2 separate regions of the Homo sapiens genome follow, and region 2 is linked to region 1. The links are contacts of gene promoters, found by promoter capture Hi-C in human tissues and cell types (Jung and others, 2019). All regions are on one chromosome and are shown on one strand. The core of a region is centred on a gene start or on the middle of the fragment in contact, and the rest is flanking DNA. Distances in the headings are between cores, read along the strand shown. Region 1 holds the start of SPATA18 (spermatogenesis associated 18). Region 2 overlaps LRRC66 (leucine rich repeat containing 66).

Evidence for each region. The method cuts DNA at HindIII sites, captures the fragments that hold promoters and counts their contacts. A contact is called where the count stands out against the background at its distance.
Region 2: a contact is called between a fragment that was not itself captured here and the fragment with the promoter of SPATA18 in region 1, in 2 of the 25 tissues and cell types used here (adrenal gland and bladder).

The regions. Positions count from the first base shown.
Region 1 is chr4:52,049,117-52,053,287 of GRCh38, forward strand. It overlaps SPATA18 (spermatogenesis associated 18), which reads left to right and starts at 2,188. Exons shown (of 13, transcript NM_145263.4): 1 at 2,188-2,675. The coding sequence starts at 2,589. RefSeq lists enhancers at 1,837-2,338, 2,339-2,838, 2,631-2,980 and a silencer at 2,161-2,460. The HindIII fragment of the contact is 4,960 bases long and covers 1,049-4,171 here.
Region 2 is chr4:52,009,407-52,013,577 of GRCh38, forward strand. The region is part of intron 2 of LRRC66 (leucine rich repeat containing 66); the gene reads right to left. Among named protein-coding and RNA genes, the nearest start is that of LRRC66, 8.9 kb to the right of the region's middle. The HindIII fragment of the contact is 4,965 bases long and covers 1-4,171 here.

The DNA of each region.
Region 1 (4,171 bases), core at 938-3,437:
ACAAGACTCTAGGGAGTTCGAAACGTTCCTACATTTTCCTGTCTTCTTCAGAGTCCTCCAAACTGTTCCAACCTCTGCCTGTTACTCAGTTCCAGAAAGTTACTCAGTTCCTAAAGTGCTCCACATTTTTGGATATATTTTCAGTGGCGCTGCAATCCCCATAAGAATTTACTGTATTAGTTGGTTTACAAGCTGCTGAGACGGGGCAATTTACAAAAGAAAGAGGTTGAATGGACTTACAGTTCCACATGGCGAGGGAGGCCTCACAATCATGGTGGGAGGCAAGGAGGAGCAAGTAACATCTTATATGGGCGGCAGCAAGCTTGTGCAGGGAAAATTCCCTTTTTCAAAACCACCAGATCTTGTGAGACTTACTCACTATCACGAGAATAGTACAGGAAAGACCTGACTCCATGGTTCAATTACCTCTCACTGGACCCCTCCCACAACACGTGGAATCCAAGATGAGATTTTGGCAAGGACTCAGCCAAACCATGTTAGTAACTGTTTGGGGTAACTTTTTTCTGAATAAGTTTTCATACAAACAATTCATATTCATGATAGAAACTTGAAAAAATCAGAAAAATATAAAAGAGCAATTAAAATAACCCACAATTATACCTTGGGTTCACATTGTGTAATTTAACACAGTGTATACAATTTAGTGTTCTGCCTTTTTCGTTATAGTGAAAATTTGTAGATAGTATATATTCTACAACAACAAGATTTTTAGTGTGCAACATTTCATTATTTGCTTAACCATTACCCTATTGTTGGAGGTTTAGATTGTTTACAACTAGTTTTCTTTATTAAATATAAACATACTAATCCACATTCTTAATAATAGCAAATGTAGGCCAGTATTAGTTTATATTTAATAAACAGCAATTACTAGAGCAATTGCTACTGCATTTTGCCAAGCATTGTACTAAATACATGAATTATCTTACTAAGTTTCATAATAATCCTATGAGAGAATTATTTTCCTTTTACAGATGATGAAACCAAGGATTACAGGCTAATTAAGGTGCTCACAGCAAGGAAAAATCCTTTACCTCTAATTTATCTGACATAAATGTTCCAATATGGGTTTTTATGAATAAGTAAATGGGACTGTTCAAAGATTCCAAATGCCTGTAGAAATATGTAATTATTAGGTCCAAATTGAGAAATTTGAAGTTTTTCTCAATTCATTTTACATATATATATATATATATATATATATATATATGAAGTTGTTTAATGAATATTTAGCTGTTTTGTTGAGTGGGTATTTTTAACATTAGAAATTATTATTCTACTCCAATCAAATAACATGTTATACCCCTATAGTCCTTATTTTGTGGTCTACAGAAAATAGTAGGAACACAGGCTCCAAAACTGAGCCTTTCATTTTCATTAGCAGATAGTAAAGCCACTGTAATCAAGAGAAATAAAAAATGAGAGGTGGTGAAAATTCTTGATTTTACAATACTTGAATATATGCAGTGTTCACAGATTTTCAAGTACCTACAGAGATGAAACTAAGTTAAACTAGCTAGCTAACCAGCTGAGGCTCTGCTCCCCACCGCTGTTTTAATGAATGGATAGGAATGATTTATAATCAGCACATTTTTTGATGGTATATAAAAGAGCTTGCTTCGAAAGCGCTTAAAGATGGTCGAAATGGTTTCCTAAGTAGTTGAACCTGTTTCTGTAGCAGAATACACACTTTTGAAATAGTGCCAAACTAGGTCAAGAAAGTCCCAATTAGAGAATTCAGAATTAAATGAAGCTTTAGAGTGCTCAATGACTCTAAAAAAAAAAGTACTAAAATACATACTGCCAAATCTTATCCAAACCTGAGGGATTAACTTTAATTTGTGAACATCCTGGAGCTAAACTCTATTAACTTGGGTACCCACCCAGTGGGTCAAGGAACAAAGTAAAAGCTAGAAGTAAGAAGTACTGAAATTTTAGTTACAAGTTTCATACAGGTAAACCCAAGGCGCTACAAATGAAGAATTAAAGGAATGAAAGGCGAAAGAATAAAGGGGCCAAAGAGGTGATCTCCTGAGAGCCTAGCCCCAAACTTCTATAGAGACTTAACTTCTGCTTTTCTGGACACGCGTGGGCACCCAGAACCCCGAATGGGGAGGAATGCTGTAGACGCCCTGCTGCCCTCCAGCCCGCGCGGCTGCGCGTCTCAGTCCACCCCTGGGGCGCGCGGCTGTCACCCAGGGCGGGGCGGCGCGGGCGTTGCCACGACGCGGGCCGCGCGCGTCCCTGGCAGCCAACCCGTCCACGTCAAGGTTTGTTTAATAATCGCCAGGGTATCTATGGCCGGGCTCAGGCGGCTGCTGGGGAGCCAGGAGACCGCGCGGGACGGCGGATGAGGCGCGGCGGCTGCGGCCCAGGGCACCTCCCCTCTGGCTTCCCGAACCCGGCCAGGTCCGACCCGAGGGGGAGGATGGAAACACCTGCCGCGCTCTGAGCCCCCCAGAAGAGAACACCCTTCCCGCCATATCACCCCACGGTCCTGCGGAGGCCACCGCCTGGTCCCCCCAAGTCTCCATCGCGCAGCGTGGGGCCGAGAGGAATAGTGAGCGATGGCGGAAAACCTGAAAAGACTGGTCTCAAACGAAACTTTACGAACGTTGCAGGAAAAGCTAGACTTCTGGCTGAAGGAGTACAACGTGAGTCTGGGTGAAAAACCCCCGGGGTTCGCCCTCCCATAGGTTCCAGCACAGCCCTTGTCGGGGATTTCTTAGGGCTGGAGTTGGTGGCCACTTTGCAAAGCCTCCGCGGTTGCGATTCCTAACCAGGATCTCAGCTTTCGACCGGGATCGCTGGGGAAGGAAGGACATGTGTGTACATGCCCTTGTCTCAGAGCTTCGGGAGGCGGCGCGCAGGCGGCCTGCGGAGCGCAGCACTAGGCTGCGGAGACTGGAGAGTGCTTCCAATCAGTGGTAACTAAGGACGCCGGCGACCTAGCAATAGGGAAGCCCTGCTGTCCGCGGCTGGTCTGGTCATGCCTGCCACTCTTTCCCATCCCCCTTGCCAGCGCAATCCACACCGCCTGCTTCCCCAATCCCGAATTATTTTTTACTACAACCCTCTCCTGCCCAGGGTTTGTATCAGAATGGATTTGTATAAACACACACCCAGGAGTTATTTACCCAGAAATCAGCGAAACGGACACTTGTTAACGTTGCGGGTTTCACTTGCGTGCTGGTGGGCCTGGAAATTGAGGCACAGTTCCAACACCAGGGCGGATTCAGGCCTTTTTCCAGGCATTTGTGAGAAGCCAGTATTCTGTCACCAAACCCATGAGCACTTTTCAAATCTCATTAATCCCTACTCGCACCCTGCCTCCCCATAATTCCCCCCTTCCCCCAAATAGAACGGTGAGTGTTGAATTTGCTTTACATTCGGTCGGTCCGTCTTAAATAGGGATTTCCCCTCTTACATAATAAGTGGAGCGGCCAGGCAAAAGAACTGTGGACCGGAAATTAGCCCCCCCTTGTTTCTACATTTGGCTCTGCATAGAACTAGCTGAATGACGGAGTCAAATTATTTAACTTCTCTTGGTCTTAGTACCTCATCTGTGAAATAGCAGAGATTGGTCTAGATGATATGTAAATTTCCTGTTCAGATTTTAAGTTTTTGAGCCTAGATTAGCTTGTTTCTGAGATCCTGCCTGTTATGAGGTCCTTAGGCTTCCCCATTCACCCTTTAACCAGTGCTCCTGAAGTGGAGGGGAGCTCAAAGAGCAGCTACAGCTTTCTCCTTAGCCTTCCTTTCTAGTGCTTCCTGTTCAGTCCTTTGCTCCCTTTTAAAGAACAAGCGCTGACCATTCCTTCTCCATTAAGAATTCTGGAAAGTTAAAATGACCTCTTTATCATAAAAGACTTGGGTTCCCCCCAACTAATTTTAAAAGTACCTACTACTTAGTCTCAGGAGGTTGAGAATAAGAAATTCTAACATGTATACAGTATTTACCCCTTTTTTTTTGCCCAGTGGCCTAACTAAACTCTGAATTTTAAAAAAACATGTTGTTTGTCACAATGTTTATTACAAATAACACTAGGATTTGTCTGGAACTAATAAACAATTATTTTAGAAACTCCCTGTAAGTGATGAGAAGTGCCTTAGTTTATTACATTTTCCTGTCTTGATAACATCCCATTCT
Region 2 (4,171 bases), core at 1,176-3,675, 39 kb before region 1:
AAAGTAGGAAATGTAAAAATAATAGAGAAAAATCAATAAAACCAAAAGCTGGTTCTTTAACAACAATAAAATTGATTTAAAAAGATTTCTAGCCAGGCTGATCAGAAAAGAGAAGATATAAATTATCAGTGTCAATAATAAGAGAGGTGGCATTACTACAGAGTCTATAGATACTAAAAGGATAATGAAACATTGTGAACAGCTTTATGCTAATAAACTACCAATACTCACTCAAAAAGCAATAGATAATGTGAATAACCCTGCATCTATTAATGAAAGTAAACTTGTAATTAAATACCTTCCCATGAAAAAACTCCTGTTCAGATAGCTTCACTGGGGAATTCTATGAAACATTTATGGAAGAAACAAAGCCAATTCTAAACAAACACTTCCAGAAGACGGAAGAGGAATAAATATCTCCCAATTCATTTTATGAGGCCCACATTACTCTAATACCAAAACTAGACATCAACAATATAGCAAAAGAAAATAATAACCCAATATTCCTCATGAACATAGGTGTAAAATTTCTTAAAATTTTAGCAAATTGAATCCAAAATATATAAAAAAGACAATAAATCATGACAAAATGGAATTCATCCCACGAATGCAAAGTTGATTTAATATTAGAAAATCTACACAATTCTCCAAATTAACAGATTAAAAAAGAAACCCATATGATCATCTCAGTAGATCCAGAAAAGGTCTTGGGCAAACTGGGAATAGAGAGAATTTCATCAACCTGGCATAGAGCATTTATGAAAGATCTAGCAGCTTTATTTTTAATAGCCAAAAAGACAATCTAAGTGTCCATCAACAGATAAATGAATCCACATGATGGAATTCTACACAGCAATGAAAAGGAATGAACCTTTCCCCACAGTTCACAAAATTTTTTCTTTTTGTCTTATTTTTTAAAATAATGTCAACTTTTATTTGCGAGTACATGTGCAGGTTTGTTACACAGGTATATTGCCTGATGCTGAGGGTTTGCAGTACAAATGATCCCATCACCCAGGTAGTGAGCATAGTACTCAATAGGTAGTTTTTCAGCTTTAGTCTCCCTCCTCCCACACTCCTCCTCCTTCTAGTGGTCCCCAGTGTCTATTGTTCCCATCTTTACGTCTGTTTGAACCCAAGATTTAGTTCCCACTTATAAGCGAGAATATATTACTTTGCTTAGGATAATGGCCTGCAGCTACATCCATGTTGCTGCAAACGACATGATTTCATTCTTGTTTAGAGCTGTGTAGGAGACCATGATGTATATGTACCACATTTTCTCTATCCAATCCACTGTTGATGGGCACCTAGGTTGATTCCATGTAGTTGCTATTGTGATTGGTGCTGTGATGAACATATGAGTGCATGTGTCTTTTTTGTAGAATGATTTATTTTTCCTTTGCATATACACCCACTAATGGGCTTGCTAGGTCGAATTGTAATTCTGTTTTTAGTAGGAATGAACTTTTAATATATACAACGACATGGATAAGTCTCAAAATAATTATGCTGAAAAAAGACGTTAGACCAAAAATAAAAGTACATATTGTATGATTCCTTTTATATAAAATTATAGAAATGCAAGTGAATCTATAATGAAACAGAAAGGAGATCAGCGGTTTCCTGGGTTGGGGAGAAGGGATGGGTGGAAAAGACAGATTACAAAGGGGGATGAAGAAGCTTTTGCGGTGACAGACATTACACTTAGTAAATACTCCCTCTGTACTATGAACTTCTTAAGTGCTCTCCCAAGTATGATAACCTGATAACATAAAACAATATTCAGGGATTATGGCTTTTAGTCCAAAGAGCAATAAGAATTGGAATAGAGTCTAGAATGGTCCTGGGTAAGATATTTGATTCATTAGGTCAGATCTTATTGTGGTCAAATTATGTAGGTGAGCCAAAGGCTCTGCCTTCTTAGTTGAGTATCTTATATACTTTTTGTTTTAATTATCTTGATAGTGGTGATGGTTTCATGAGTCAGTGTGGTTCAGAGAGTCAGAGGACAGATCAAAAAGTGCTCTGAAAAAGGAAGAGCAGAGGCTTCCAACATTATGCAGACCTATATAAATATGAACAGAGGCACCCAGACTGTTGGTGAATACTCTAAACATCTGAAGACAGAGAATGAGAATCCCCTTTAATTATCTATTGTGCCTGAAATCAAGGAAGTTACCGTTACAGCAAAGACCAGGGCAGGAAATATAGAATTAAAGACTCAGGACGATCAAGTGGCACTAAAGGGGAACTAATGCTTTTGAACACCTGCTGTGTGCCAGGCACTATGAGAGATGTTTTACATGTATCATCACTCTATGTGTTATAGTCTTGATGCACACTGTCTCTAAACCTTATACCTACCCTATACATATACTTATTCTCAGTTAAAGATAAGGACCAGGAAGCTTTTTTAGGTTAAGTGACTTGTTTAAGGTCAACAAACAAGTAAATAGTGTAATATAAGATGTGTAAAAGAATTACAAGTAAACAGGCTGAGAACGGTGACTGATGCCTGTAATCCCAGCACTTTGGGAGGCTGAGGCAGGCGGATCACTTGAGGTCAGGAGTTCAAAACCAGCCTGGCCAATATGGTGAAACCCCATCTTTACTAAAAATACAAAAAAATTAGCTGGGTGTGGTGGCAGGCACCTGTAATCCCAGCTACATGGAAGGCTAAGGCAGGAGAATCTCTTGAACCCGGGAGGTGGAGGTTGTAGTGAGCTGAGATCATGCCACTGCACTCCAGTCTGGGTGACAAGAGTGAGGCTCCATCTAAAAACAGAAAAAAAAAAGGAGTAAATAAAAAGAGTGGGACCCGAACATACCCAAGCATGTGGGGAGAGGGTGATTTTGATTTTGAATGCAGTTATTAGAGAATCCTCTTATTTAACTCCCCTCATAATATCAAGCTGAGATTTTCCAAGAGGAAGGTAAACTTCTTCTGGAGATGAGAATAAAGACCAGGAAGTTCAGTTTACACCTCCTGAATGAAAACTTTTCCTTTACTTTCAATTTTAGATAATTAAGATTTTATTTTTTTAAGGGAACTGGTACAGACCTGGTTTGTATAGCGTCTCTCAGGATGGAGTTGGGAAATTTAAGAAAACTCTTGCATGGTACTTGACTGCACTTCTCAATGGGAAAATGTATTCTTTTAATATTTTTGCTTGGTAAGCCAATGTTCAGAGGGTAGTCAAATGAGTGAAAAGAGGCTGTATGGTGCATTCACGGCTGGGGCTTGGACATCAGGGGTACATTTTATACTTCAAGAGAGGAGAGTTGAATGCTGGGAGGAAAATATAGAGGTACTCTGTGGAAAGGGAATTATTTATTGAACTGCTTTCTAAAGATTACAAAGGACACACTAGGCAGGAATTTTATTAGCCTTTGCATTTAAGTGGCCAGAGGCAGTTTTATTATTTCCAAGAAATGACCTGTCTCTCAGAAAAAAAGGCCACAGAAAGGATACTCAGACATTACACTTAGTAAATACTCCTTCTGTACTATGAACTTAAGTGCTCTCCCAAGTGTGATAACCTGATAACATAAAACAATATTCAGGGATTATGGCTGTTAGTCCAAAGAGCAATTAAGAATTGGAATAGAGTCTAGAATGGTCCTGGGTAAGATATTCGATTCATTAGGTCAGATCTTATTGTGGTCAAATTATGTAGGTTAGCCAAAGGCCTTGCCTTCTTAGTTTAGTGTCTTATATACTTTTTGTTTCTTTAGAACCTGAATTAGTTTTGAGTACATTGCTTATTGATAATTCCATAATCCAGTAGCAATCAGGATGAAATCTTTAATTTTCTATGAATAAAGGAACACAATATACTTTAGTTTTTTATAATACACTGTGTATTTTTTTTAATTCCCCCAGTTTCAAATGTTAGGTATTATTTTATCTTATTTCTAACACATTTACCTCTTAGGTTCTAGAACTTAGTTGGTTAATGTGAGGCTGCTACATTTGGTCTATCAACCTAACTGGAATCCCAACAAGATGTTGTTCCTGCTGCATTTCCAGTTACTCTGTGAGCACTCCAAAAATACTGCTTGATGAAGGTAGGACAGATTAACCAGAGACTGATCCCATTGTTTTCATGTTTTTAAACTAGTTTTTCAATTATGAATGCTGTATTCCAAAAATATGGGAGGAAGGTAG